2 separate regions of the Homo sapiens genome follow, and region 1 is linked to region 2. Evidence: promoter capture Hi-C in human tissues and cell types (Jung and others, 2019). All regions are on one chromosome and are shown on one strand. The core of a region is centred on a gene start or on the middle of the fragment in contact, and the rest is flanking DNA. Distances in the headings are between cores, read along the strand shown. Region 1 overlaps TTC3 (tetratricopeptide repeat domain 3). Region 2 holds the start of MORC3 (MORC family CW-type zinc finger 3).

The links. Contacts are between HindIII fragments. The study calls those that stand out against the background at their distance.
Region 1: a contact is called between a fragment that was not itself captured here and the fragment with the promoter of MORC3 in region 2, in 1 of the 25 tissues and cell types used here (dorsolateral prefrontal cortex).

The regions. Positions count from the first base shown.
Region 1 is chr21:37,079,633-37,084,971 of GRCh38, reverse strand. The region is part of intron 1 of TTC3 (tetratricopeptide repeat domain 3); the gene reads right to left. Among named protein-coding and RNA genes, the nearest start is that of TTC3, 9.0 kb to the right of the region's middle. The HindIII fragment of the contact is 7,551 bases long and covers 1-5,054 here.
Region 2 is chr21:36,318,258-36,323,626 of GRCh38, reverse strand. It overlaps MORC3 (MORC family CW-type zinc finger 3), which reads right to left and starts at 3,430. Exons shown (of 17, transcript NM_015358.3): 1 at 3,324-3,430. The coding sequence starts at 3,362. RefSeq lists a silencer at 2,847-3,306. The HindIII fragment of the contact is 28,282 bases long and covers 1-5,369 here.

The DNA of each region.
Region 1 (5,339 bases), core at 30-2,529, 760 kb before region 2:
GCCCAGGCTGGAGTGCACTGGCACGATCTCGGCTCACTGCAACCTCCACTTCCCGGGTTCAAGCGATTCTCCTGCCTCAGCCTCCCAAGTAGCTGGGACTACAGGTGCCCACCACCACGCCCAGCTAATTTTTGTATTTTTAGTAGAGACAGGATTTCACCATATTGGCCAGGCTGGTCTTGAACTCCTGACCTTGTGATCCGCCCGCCTCGGCCTCCCAAAGTGCTGGGATTACAGGCGTGAGCCACCGCACCCGGCCTTGTATTTTGTTTTTAACTAGAGAGGCAATGTGACAAAGTGGTTAAGAACAGGGACTCTGCAGCCAAGACTCTGGGCTTGAGTCCTGGCTCTCTTGTTTCCTTGGGTGTGTGATCTTGGGCAAGTTACTTAACCTCTCTGTGCTTCCTCTGTGTTTCCTCGCATATCAAATGGGGATAACGATACTACCTACCTGATCAATCTGTTAATACATGTAAAGAGCTTAGAAGAGTACCAGGTATATGGGAAATGCTATAAATACCAGCTATCATTAACATTAATGTTAGATGAGTATTTTTAAAATCCACTGTTTGGATGCTTCCAGCTAAATAGTCTACCTTAATTGCTAAATCCAAAGAGCACTTTTCAGCTTACAACTTACTTGACGCTGTGGACCACTTCCTCCTCAGAACTCTTCATTTGGACTCCAAAGACCATCTTCTCCTGGTTTTCCTCCTATTCGTCTGGCTGCTCTTCCTCAGTTTCCTTCATGGGTTCTTCTTCTCCATTCCCCGCCACCCAATGTCAACTCTCTTTTCTTCTCACTCTTACTCTCTCCTTGGGTGAATTTATCCACCACACCCATGACTTAACACAGCACTTTCTGAACTTGCATCGTTTGCATAGCTTCACCGTGATTTTTGCCATTTCCATGTATCACATATATTTTTAGTTAATATTTCCCTTTTATTGAGCTCACTTGGCCTAAGTGATAATGTCCATGATTATCAAAGGTTAGATGTGCAAGTTATGTTTCTCATACACATTAAATTCCTATCTATTAAAATTTTTTCAAGTGTTTATCTATGTACCAGTTTAAATTATCTCATATGCACTGCAGTAAACAATGGCTTCCAAAATTCCAAATGCTGAAGACTCCCAAATCCTTCCAGGCGGGGTTGTATCTCTTGACTTCTAGACCCTACTAGAACTACTACAGGATCTTAACCAAGATGTCCCACAAGCCCCTCTGAATCAGGAAGTTCAAAAACAAACATCTTTTCCTCAAAAACAAACATATGAAATGAAGTTCTTTCCTCTTTCTGTATGCTGTTTATCAGTTAATTGTTCTACATGTCATTTTACTGCCCAAACCTAAACCCTGGGAGTCAACCTAGACTCCCCAGTCTCCTTCAATATTTCTGTCCAATGGACCACTAACTCTTGTCATTTCTGCTTCCCTAAGAAATCTAAAATTAGCACACATATACTTCTTCATGCCCAGTGCCACTGCCTTCACTGTTTCTCCTCTGAACTAATTTAACAAGCAGTCTCCTAACTGGTCAGACTTGCCTTCAATCTTGGCATCCTCTAAAACTCTGATCATATCACTTTACTGCTTAAAACCATGCAACAGCTTCCCTTCAGCTTGAGAATAAAGTCCAACTTCCCTAATATAAGCATAGAAGACCTTTTGTGATCTTGCTCCTGCTTTTATCCCCAGTCACTCCACAACACACAACCTAGAAGCCAGTCATACCCAACTGCTTGTCCTTCCTAAACAAAACTTATTCTGCAACCACCTAATGTCTATTAGTTCTTAATACTCAATTTCAGGAAGCATTTCCTGATCTTCCCACTACCATCAAGTTGATTTTTGCACCTCTTCTCTGTAAACAAGAGCACCCTGCCCATGTCTCTGACAGCAGTTTTCACATTGTTTGACCATCACAGGTTTATCTCTGCAGGGTCACTATGGATCCAGAGGATATATTGTGCAATCCATTTGCCATCTGTACTGCTATTTACTTAATACTTTTCTTTAGGATAACTCAAATCTTAACTTAGATGTAAACTAGTTTTAATGGAAATGTTGGTATCACCAAGAAAGCTTGCTTGGTACCATAAAATTTTTTATAATACAATCAAACAAAAATATACTACTAAAATTAAATATTAAAATAAAGAGCTTCTGATCCCATCAGTTATGGTCAACTATACACTCTGGGGGAATGTACTGTTGGGAGGAAAAAGGTATATCCTAGATTAAAAAAAAAAACACTTTTTGGATGTTTTTGCTGAGCTCATAGAAATAGGGGAACATGTGAAGGCACCCTCTCCACGCAAAAGCAACAAACCTTGAGCTAGAAATTAAACCTGGCTACAGTTTAGTGCTACAAGTAGTGGTGCCAAGAGCAGTAATAGGATCAGGACACTGAGCCCTGGGCCAGAAGCAAAATGTAGGAACTCAAAAGTGATGCCAGCTAAACTTTCTGGCTCCCAGACAAAGCTGATAGAAATGCTTTCAGAAAGCAAGCATCCTCAAATTAGACTCTCAAGATCACCACAAAGATCAAACAGAAGTTCATAATCAATGATCACCAAACACATGAGGTGACAGCTACATTGAGGAGAGACAACAGAAAAAAAAACAAAAAAGCAATAAATTTAGACATCCCCCTCCTCAAGGATATCAGACATTGGGAATGTCTGATATAGTCTACAGAATAGCTATAGAGTCACAAAAATCAGCATATAACATGAGAACATGAAGAATGACTGGACATATCAAAAAAGAACCAGGCAGAACTTTTAGAAATTAAAAATGCGGCCGGGCATGGTGGCTCATGCCTGTAATCCCAGCACTCTGGGAGGCCAACGTGAGCAGATGACGAGGTCAGGAGATCGAGACCATCCTGGGTAACACGGTGAAACCCCGTCTCTACTAAAAATACAAAAAAATTAGCCGGGCGTGGTGGCGGGCGCCTGTAGTCCCAGCTACTCGGGAGGCTGAGGCAGGAGAATGGCGTGAACCCGGGAGGCGGAGCTTGCAGTGAGCTGAGATCGCGCCTCTGCACTCCAGCCTGGGCGACAGAGAGAGACTCCATCTTAAAAAAAAAAAAAAAAAGTAATTAAAAATGCAATTGTTAAAAGAAAAAAAAGAGACAGGATGGGTTACAGAGGATATTAGGCACAGTTGAAGAGAAAATTGGTGAACTAAAATATATGCCTTATGAAATTATCCAGCACTGTAAATTCTGGTAAAGAGAAACAAAGAGATAAAAAATATGAAAGATAAAGAATAAGTGATCTGGAAACAGTTTAGTGTATATATATATCCAGTTAAAGTTCCAGCAGGAGAGAAGAGACTAATGAGACATAATATTTAAAGAATACAGGGCTCAGAAACTTCTAGATCTCATGAAAGACAAAATGCAGAATCATGAAACACATGCATCCAAAATAGGATAAATATAATCTCTATCTAGACTTAGAAGTGAAATGATGTAACACAAAAGACAGAAAATCCAATGTAACTAAAAGAAAAATGATATTTTCTTCAAAAAACGCATAAATAGGCTGGGTGCAGTGGCTCACGCCTGTAATCCCAGCACTTTGGGAGGCTGAGGCGGACAGATCACGAGGTCAAGAGATCAAGACCATCCTGGCCAACATGGTGAAACCCCATCTCTACTAAAAATACAAAAATTGGCCAGGCATGGTGGCAGGTGCCTGTAGTCCCAGCTACTTGGGAGTCTGAGGCAGGAGAATCGCTTGAATCCAGGAGGCGGAGGTTGCAATGAGCCAAGATGGCGCCACTGCACTCCAGCCTAACAACACAGCAAGACTCCACCTCAAAAAAAAAAAAAAAAAAAAAAAAAAAGGCATAAATAAAACTGGCAGCACACTTTGTATAAGCAACAGCAGAATAGTATTCCTACCCTACTGACAGAAAAGAAACACCAACCTACAATTGTACATCCATCAAAATGATCTGTCAAGAACAAAGGTAAAATAAAAATACTTTTAGATTTTTTTTAATATCTAAAACTGAGTCAAACACCAACCAAGACACCTGGAACATAACCAATTAAAAGACAGAAGTTGTCTGGTGAGATTAAAAGAAAAATCCAGTAGTATGTCCCTTATAAGAGACACTTAAAATGTAAGGACACTAAAAAAAATCAAAGTAAAATGAAAGAAAAGAATATTCCAGGTAAATTAGCACCAAAAGAAAGACGGGATCAGACAAAAAGCCTCTAAGACAAAGAAGCAAACTTAGAGAAGATCACAATATAGTAAAGGTTCGAGCCACTAGGAAAAAAATGTTAAGCTTGCATGTAGCTAATAAAAGTCTCAAAATACAGAAGAACAAAAATTGTTAGAACTACAGGAAATCTGTTAGAAACTAGTAATGGTGGAATATTGCAACACACTTCTCTCAGTTAATGATAGGATAAACCAAAATTAATAAGGATAAAGACTATCAGAACAACACAAATAACAAGCTTTACCTAATAGACACTTAACAATTACAGAATATATACTCTTCACAAGTGTACACAGAACAGTTCTAATAATTCACTATGTACAAGGCCATAAAGCAAGGGCAAAAAAAAAAAAATGCTAAAAAGATAAAATATTCTCTGGCAACACAAGTAAGAAATCGATAATTAAAGGAAAACAATATAGACACATTTGAAAATTTAAAAATGTCTAAGTAACTCATAAGTCAAAGAAAAAATCAAAATAGAAATTGTAAAAATACTTAGATTTGAAAGTTAATGAAAACACTATAAATTAAACTATGTTAGATAAGCAAAAATGAACTTTGAGGAAGTTTACAGTCTTGCATGCTTATACTAGGAAATCGGAATGGTTGAAAATTAATATTAAGTGTGTAATTTAAGTGAAAAAAATAGTAAAATAATAAACTGAAAGTAAAATGAAATAATAAAAGAGAAAAAAGATCAATGAAATAAAAAACAAATAATAGAACAAATTAGGCCAAAAGTTAATCCTTTGCCAAGATTTTAAAAATGGACAAACTTTTACTAAGACTGATCAAGAAAGAGAAGTCAGACATAAATAATATTCAACATGAGAAAAGGGGAACACATATACAAATAAAACAGAGATTAAAAAGAGAATTAATGCCATACCACGAGCGGTGGCTCACACCTGTAATCCTAGCACTTTGGGAGGCCGAGGTGGGCAGACCACTTGAGGTCAGGAGTTTGTGAAGAGCCTGGCCAACATGGTGAAACTCCGTCTCTACTAAAAATACAAAAAAATCAGCCAAGCATGGTGGCGCACGGCTGTAATCCCAGCTACTCAGGAGGCTGAGGCAGGAGAATCGC
Region 2 (5,369 bases), core at 2,181-4,680:
ATAATTAAAGAAAGAGCAAGGGTAGCATGAATGTATTTTCAAGAAATGATGAAATTTTTTTCTTCCCATGAACCCTTTTTTCAGGAAGCTACACCTGTTTCTGGAAGTGGTGTTATTGTTAGTGGTGGATATTCTCCACCACTAACAATAACAAAAACAGCAAACATTATTGTGCACCTACGGCACGCACAGCCCTTTTATTTATCTATCTGCTCATGTAATTTTTAAAACAACACTTTGAGGTGTGTAAGATTATTATTGCCAACATTCAGATTGGAAACTCTGGCACAAAGAGGTTAAATGACTTGGCCAAGGACATACATCTGGTTATGAGTCAGGATTTGAACCCGAGAGAGTAGGCTTCAGAATGGCAGTCACTAAGCTACATATCAGACAGAAGGATATGTGAGATGGAGACACATGAAAAGAGGAAGGAAATTTCCAGACAGATGTTAAAGGGAAGTCCCCAAATTACGACTGAGCCGATGACTCCCAACTGACTTCCAAATGACAAAACACTGGGTGTGTCTGAATCCATCTGGAAAAGAGCTCCCAGTTCTCTGGATGTCTGGATGATCAGTACAGAGAAAAACTAAGAAAACAAAATATAAATCAATTAACTTCAGGGAAAACAAAAGGTTTGTATAGGAAAGAAAATGCAATCATACTACCCTGGCTAGCTCATTTGTAAGAGTAATAACAAACCATATAGTAATTCAACCAAAAAAAGTGAAAAAAGCATTGAAGTATGGGAGGTGGTGAAGAGTGTGCATCAGCTAAATCCACAGCAGCATTTCTGAAAAAAAAAATCAACAACAAAAACCAAAGTATATGCATTTCATTTCACTAGAATTACAGGGGTAAAAAGCAAAAAATTTAAAAACTTTTTGTCACTCTGCATTTCATCCTGGGATCTCCGACCTCCTAAATGACTGTTTAAAATGTGTATACATTGGGCCGGGCACAGTGGCTCAGGCCTGTAATCGCAGTGCTTTAGGAGGCCAAGGCAGGAGGATCACCTGAGGTTGGGAATTTGAGACCAGCCTGGCCAACATGGTGAAACTCTATATATACTAAAAATACCAAAATTAGCCGGGTGTGGTGGCCCACGCGTGTAAACCCAGCTACTCGGGAGGCTGAGGCAGAAGAAGTGCTTGAATCCGGGAGGTGGAGGCTGCAGTGAGCCGAGATCGTGCCACTGCACTCCAGCCTGGAGACTGAGTGAAACTCTACCTCAAAAAAATAAAATAAAATAAAAAAGTGTATACACTAAGGGTTCACCCTTTGTGCCTTAAAATGTAGGACTTTTGACAAATACATAAGCTCATTAATTTTTATCTCTTAACGCATGCATTTGAAAACTATAAGCAAATAATGTTTCTGGCTATATTCCAATAAAATTTTATGGAAACTGAAATTTGTATTTCGCATAATTTTTATGTCACTAAACATTCTTCTTTTTTTCTCAACCATTTACAAATGTATAAATCACTCTTAGCCTTCAGGCCACACAAAAACAGGTGCTGGGCTGGATTTGGCCCATGAGCTGTATGTAGTTTGCCAACTCCTGACCTAAAGCAAAAGCAAAGAGGCTGCAGATGGGAGATTTCTGTCAGTCAGGTTCCCAACAGCCCATATTACCCACAAAACAAAGACCCAGCACATGGACAGCAGCTACACCCAGAGTGCCCGCTAACAATGCTGGTCTCTAAACACTGACCATTATCTCTGCTTCCTTTCTCCCCTCAATCTTGAAGAGCCAGAGTCTACAAGGGCCTGGGGGCGGGAAGGGAGAAGAGAATCAAAGGACAGAAACAGGAAATCAACTCACTCCGTTTCTCCACTACAGGTTTCTGGGCCTGAACAAGACTCAACCTCGAGAGAGGAAGGAGAGAGAAGTGGGGAAAGGAGATAGGGGAAAGAGAGGGGGAAAAGGGAGGGAGAGAGAATAGAGATTTTAAACTAGGTAAGGCCAGACTTTACAATACCTTAAGCTAATGGGAAAGCGTTAGTCAACCCAGATTCACACAAGTGGGGAATAATTAATGTTTACACTCAGTGGTTAAAAAAAAAAAAAAGAAAAAAAGAATAAAATTGTCCTCTATTTTCAAACTACTAAAGCCTAGCTCACTCAATAAGCTAGTTACATAACGAAAGGATGGACCTTTATCCAGAATACGTAAAGAACTCTTACAAATCAATAAAGATCCTCCCAAAAGAAAAACAGAAAATGGTCAAAGGATATGAATAGGCAATTCAAAAAAACAAAACAAAAAACCACAAAGACTAATACATGCGAAGAGCTCAACAACACAAACAGTCAAGGAAACGCAAGTAAAAGCAAATATCATTTCACAAATATCGGACTAGAAAAAATTTAAAGTCCGTCAAAACCAGGTGTTAGAATCTGCCTAAACGAATGAAAGTCCCAGAGCAATGCACCAATTATTCACTACGTGTTTGTACCCCAAGGAGTCACTACCCATTCGAATGTTAAAATTAGTGGCACTAGGGCAGTCATTCTTTGGCAAAAGTCAACAACCTCCAGAAAAGAGGAACATTTCAGCATAACATCAACTGCGCTCACAAGGTAGAAAAGTTTTTTAGGATAATCAGGTGGGGAAGCCACGCCCACATTTCCTGGACGTGAGATTTCAAGTTATCTTGTGTGACCGCTCCCTACGATTTAAGATACAAGAAATGTTCACAGGGTTTCCAAGAACTCGAAACGCCCCAAAACAGACGCAACGCGGGATAAAGAGGAGAGCTCGAGCTCAGCGATCTAGGGTCTGGGCCCCAAGGCTTCCACTGCCAAGGAAGCTGCAGGCACTGACAGGCATCAGGCACACTCATCCTGACTCCACTCGCCCGCAGGCAGGCCCGCAGCCCCGTCCCCCCGCCCCCGGGACGTCGAGGCCGCCGGCGTTTCTGGACGCGGAACCCGCTCCCTCCCACCACGACGCCCAGCGGACAGAAGAGGGTCAGGGGCCCCGCGGCCCCGAGAGCAGACCGATCTCCCGCCGAGGCCTCGCCCGCGGACGACAGCTGCTGGGAGACTAGGAGGGAGCTGGGAGGAGGAGCCGCGACCCTGGCCCGCCCCGAAGCAAAACAGAAACACAATGCAGAGGCGACGGAACGCAGCCCGGCCCGCAGCCGAGCTGTTCCGCCGACGGGAGCGAGATGGCCGCCCCCTCCCCGGGCCCCGCCGCAGCCCCCGCCGCCGCGTCGGCCCCACAAGCCGCCACCGCCCACTGCCGGCCCCCCTTCGCTTGCCCGCCCGCCCTCCTGGGACACGGCCCGCTCCACCCCTCGCGGCTGCTCACCGCGCTGAGGCGTATCCCGCGGGGTGGCTGCGCCGCCATCTTGAGCGAGCTACAAAGCCAGGAACGGCCTCCGCCGCAACCCGACTGGGAGGTGGCGGAACGACTGTGGAGCCCTATGGGTACCGCCCACTTCCGGGGAGGGGCGCACGTCTGGCCCCTCCCACCCACTTCCGCCTCCAGGCAATGCCGAATTGGGAGCTTGGGGAAGATGAATTGCCTGACTGGTTAAAGCAGGGTACAGTGGGAGCTGAGCTTCCAGCGCGGGGCCCTGCGGGCCTAGGGCGCATGCGCGAGGCGCGGCCGGCCCGTACCCGTCTCGACACCCAGCTGGAGCTCGAGACTCGGGGATCTAGAGTTTGAAGCCTGGCGCGAGATGCGGTATACCCGAGACCGGTGAACTCCAGTCACTTGACCTGGTCGGATGTGAATTGCGCAGAAAAAAGCCATTCCATATCCACCAGTGTCCATGTGAAACCTTAACGAAATAAAGACGGAAATTAATGTAGACTGTTTGGATTTGCCCTGAAAACTATCAATCTAACTCATGATTTAAAAAAAAAAAAAAGAGTTCTGGGGCCGGGCGCGGTAGCTCACGCTTGTAATCCCAGCACTTTGGGAGGCCGAGGTGGGCGGGCGGATCACCTGACTTCGGGAGTTCGAGACCAGCCTGACCAACATGGAGAAATCCCATCTCTACTAAAAATACAAAATTAGCCGGGCGTGGTGGTACATGCCTGTAATCCCAGCTACTCGGAAGGCTGAAGCAGGAGAATGCTTGAACCCAGGAGGCGGAGGTTGCAATGAGCCGAGATTGCGCCATTGCACTCCACCCTGGGCAACAAGAGTGAAACTCCGTCTCAAAATAAATAAATAAGAGTCCTAAAGGCATAAGGCCGGTGCAGTGGCTCATGCCTATAATCCCAACACATTGGGAGGTCGAGGTTGGGGGTTCACTTGATAGGGGTTCAAGACCAGCCTGGCCAACATGGTGAAACCCCATCTCTACTAAAAATACAAAAATTAGCTGGGCATATTAGTGGGCGCCTGTAATCCCAGCTACTCGGGGGGCTGAGGCAGGAGAAGTGGGTGAACCCAGGACAAGGAGGTTGCAGTGAGCCCAGATCGCGCCACTGTACTCCAGCCTGGGCGACAGAGTGAGACTGTCTCAAAAAAATTAATTATTTTTAGAAAGAGAAATTGGCTGGGTGCAGTGGCTCATGTCTGTAATCTCAGCACTTTGAGAGGCTACATTGCGAGGGTCTCTTGAACCCAGGAGTTCGAGACGAGCCTGGGCAACACGAGGAGACCTCATCTTTACAAAAAAAAAATTGAATTAGCTGGCAGGGCGTGGTGGCTCACACCTGTAATCCCAGCACCTTGGGAGGCTAAGGCGGGCAGATCACTTGAGGTCGGGTGTTTGAGACCAGCCTGACCAACATGGCGAAACCCCATCTCTACTAAAAATACAAAATTAGCCGGGTGTGGTGGCACATGCCCGTAATCCCAGCTACTGGAGAGGCTGAGGCAGGAGAATCACTTGAACCCAGGAGGTGGAGGTTGCGGTGAGCCAAGATCACACCACTGCACTCCAGCCGGGACAACAAGAGCGAAACTCCATCTCAAAAAAAAAAAAAAATTAATTGTGCTTGGGGGCGCACGCCTGTGGTTCCAGCTACTTGGGAGGCTGAGGTGGGGAGGACTACTTGACCCTGGGAGACTGAGGCTGTAATGAGCCATGTTCTCACCACTGCACTCAGTCTGGGCAACAGAGCGAGACTCTCGTCTCAAAAAGGAAAAAGAAACAAAAGAGAATGGATTTTTTTTTCTTTTTTTTTTTTTGGAGACCGAGTCTCGCTCTGTCGCCCAGGCTGGAGTGCAGTGGAATGATCTCGGCTCACTGCAAGCTCCGCCTTCCGGGTTCACGCCATTCTCCTGCCTCAGCCTCCCGAGTAGCTGGGACTACAGGCGCCCGCCACTGCGCCCAGCTAATTTTTTGTATTTTTAGTAGAGACGGGGTTTCACCGTGGTCTCGATCTCCTGACCTCG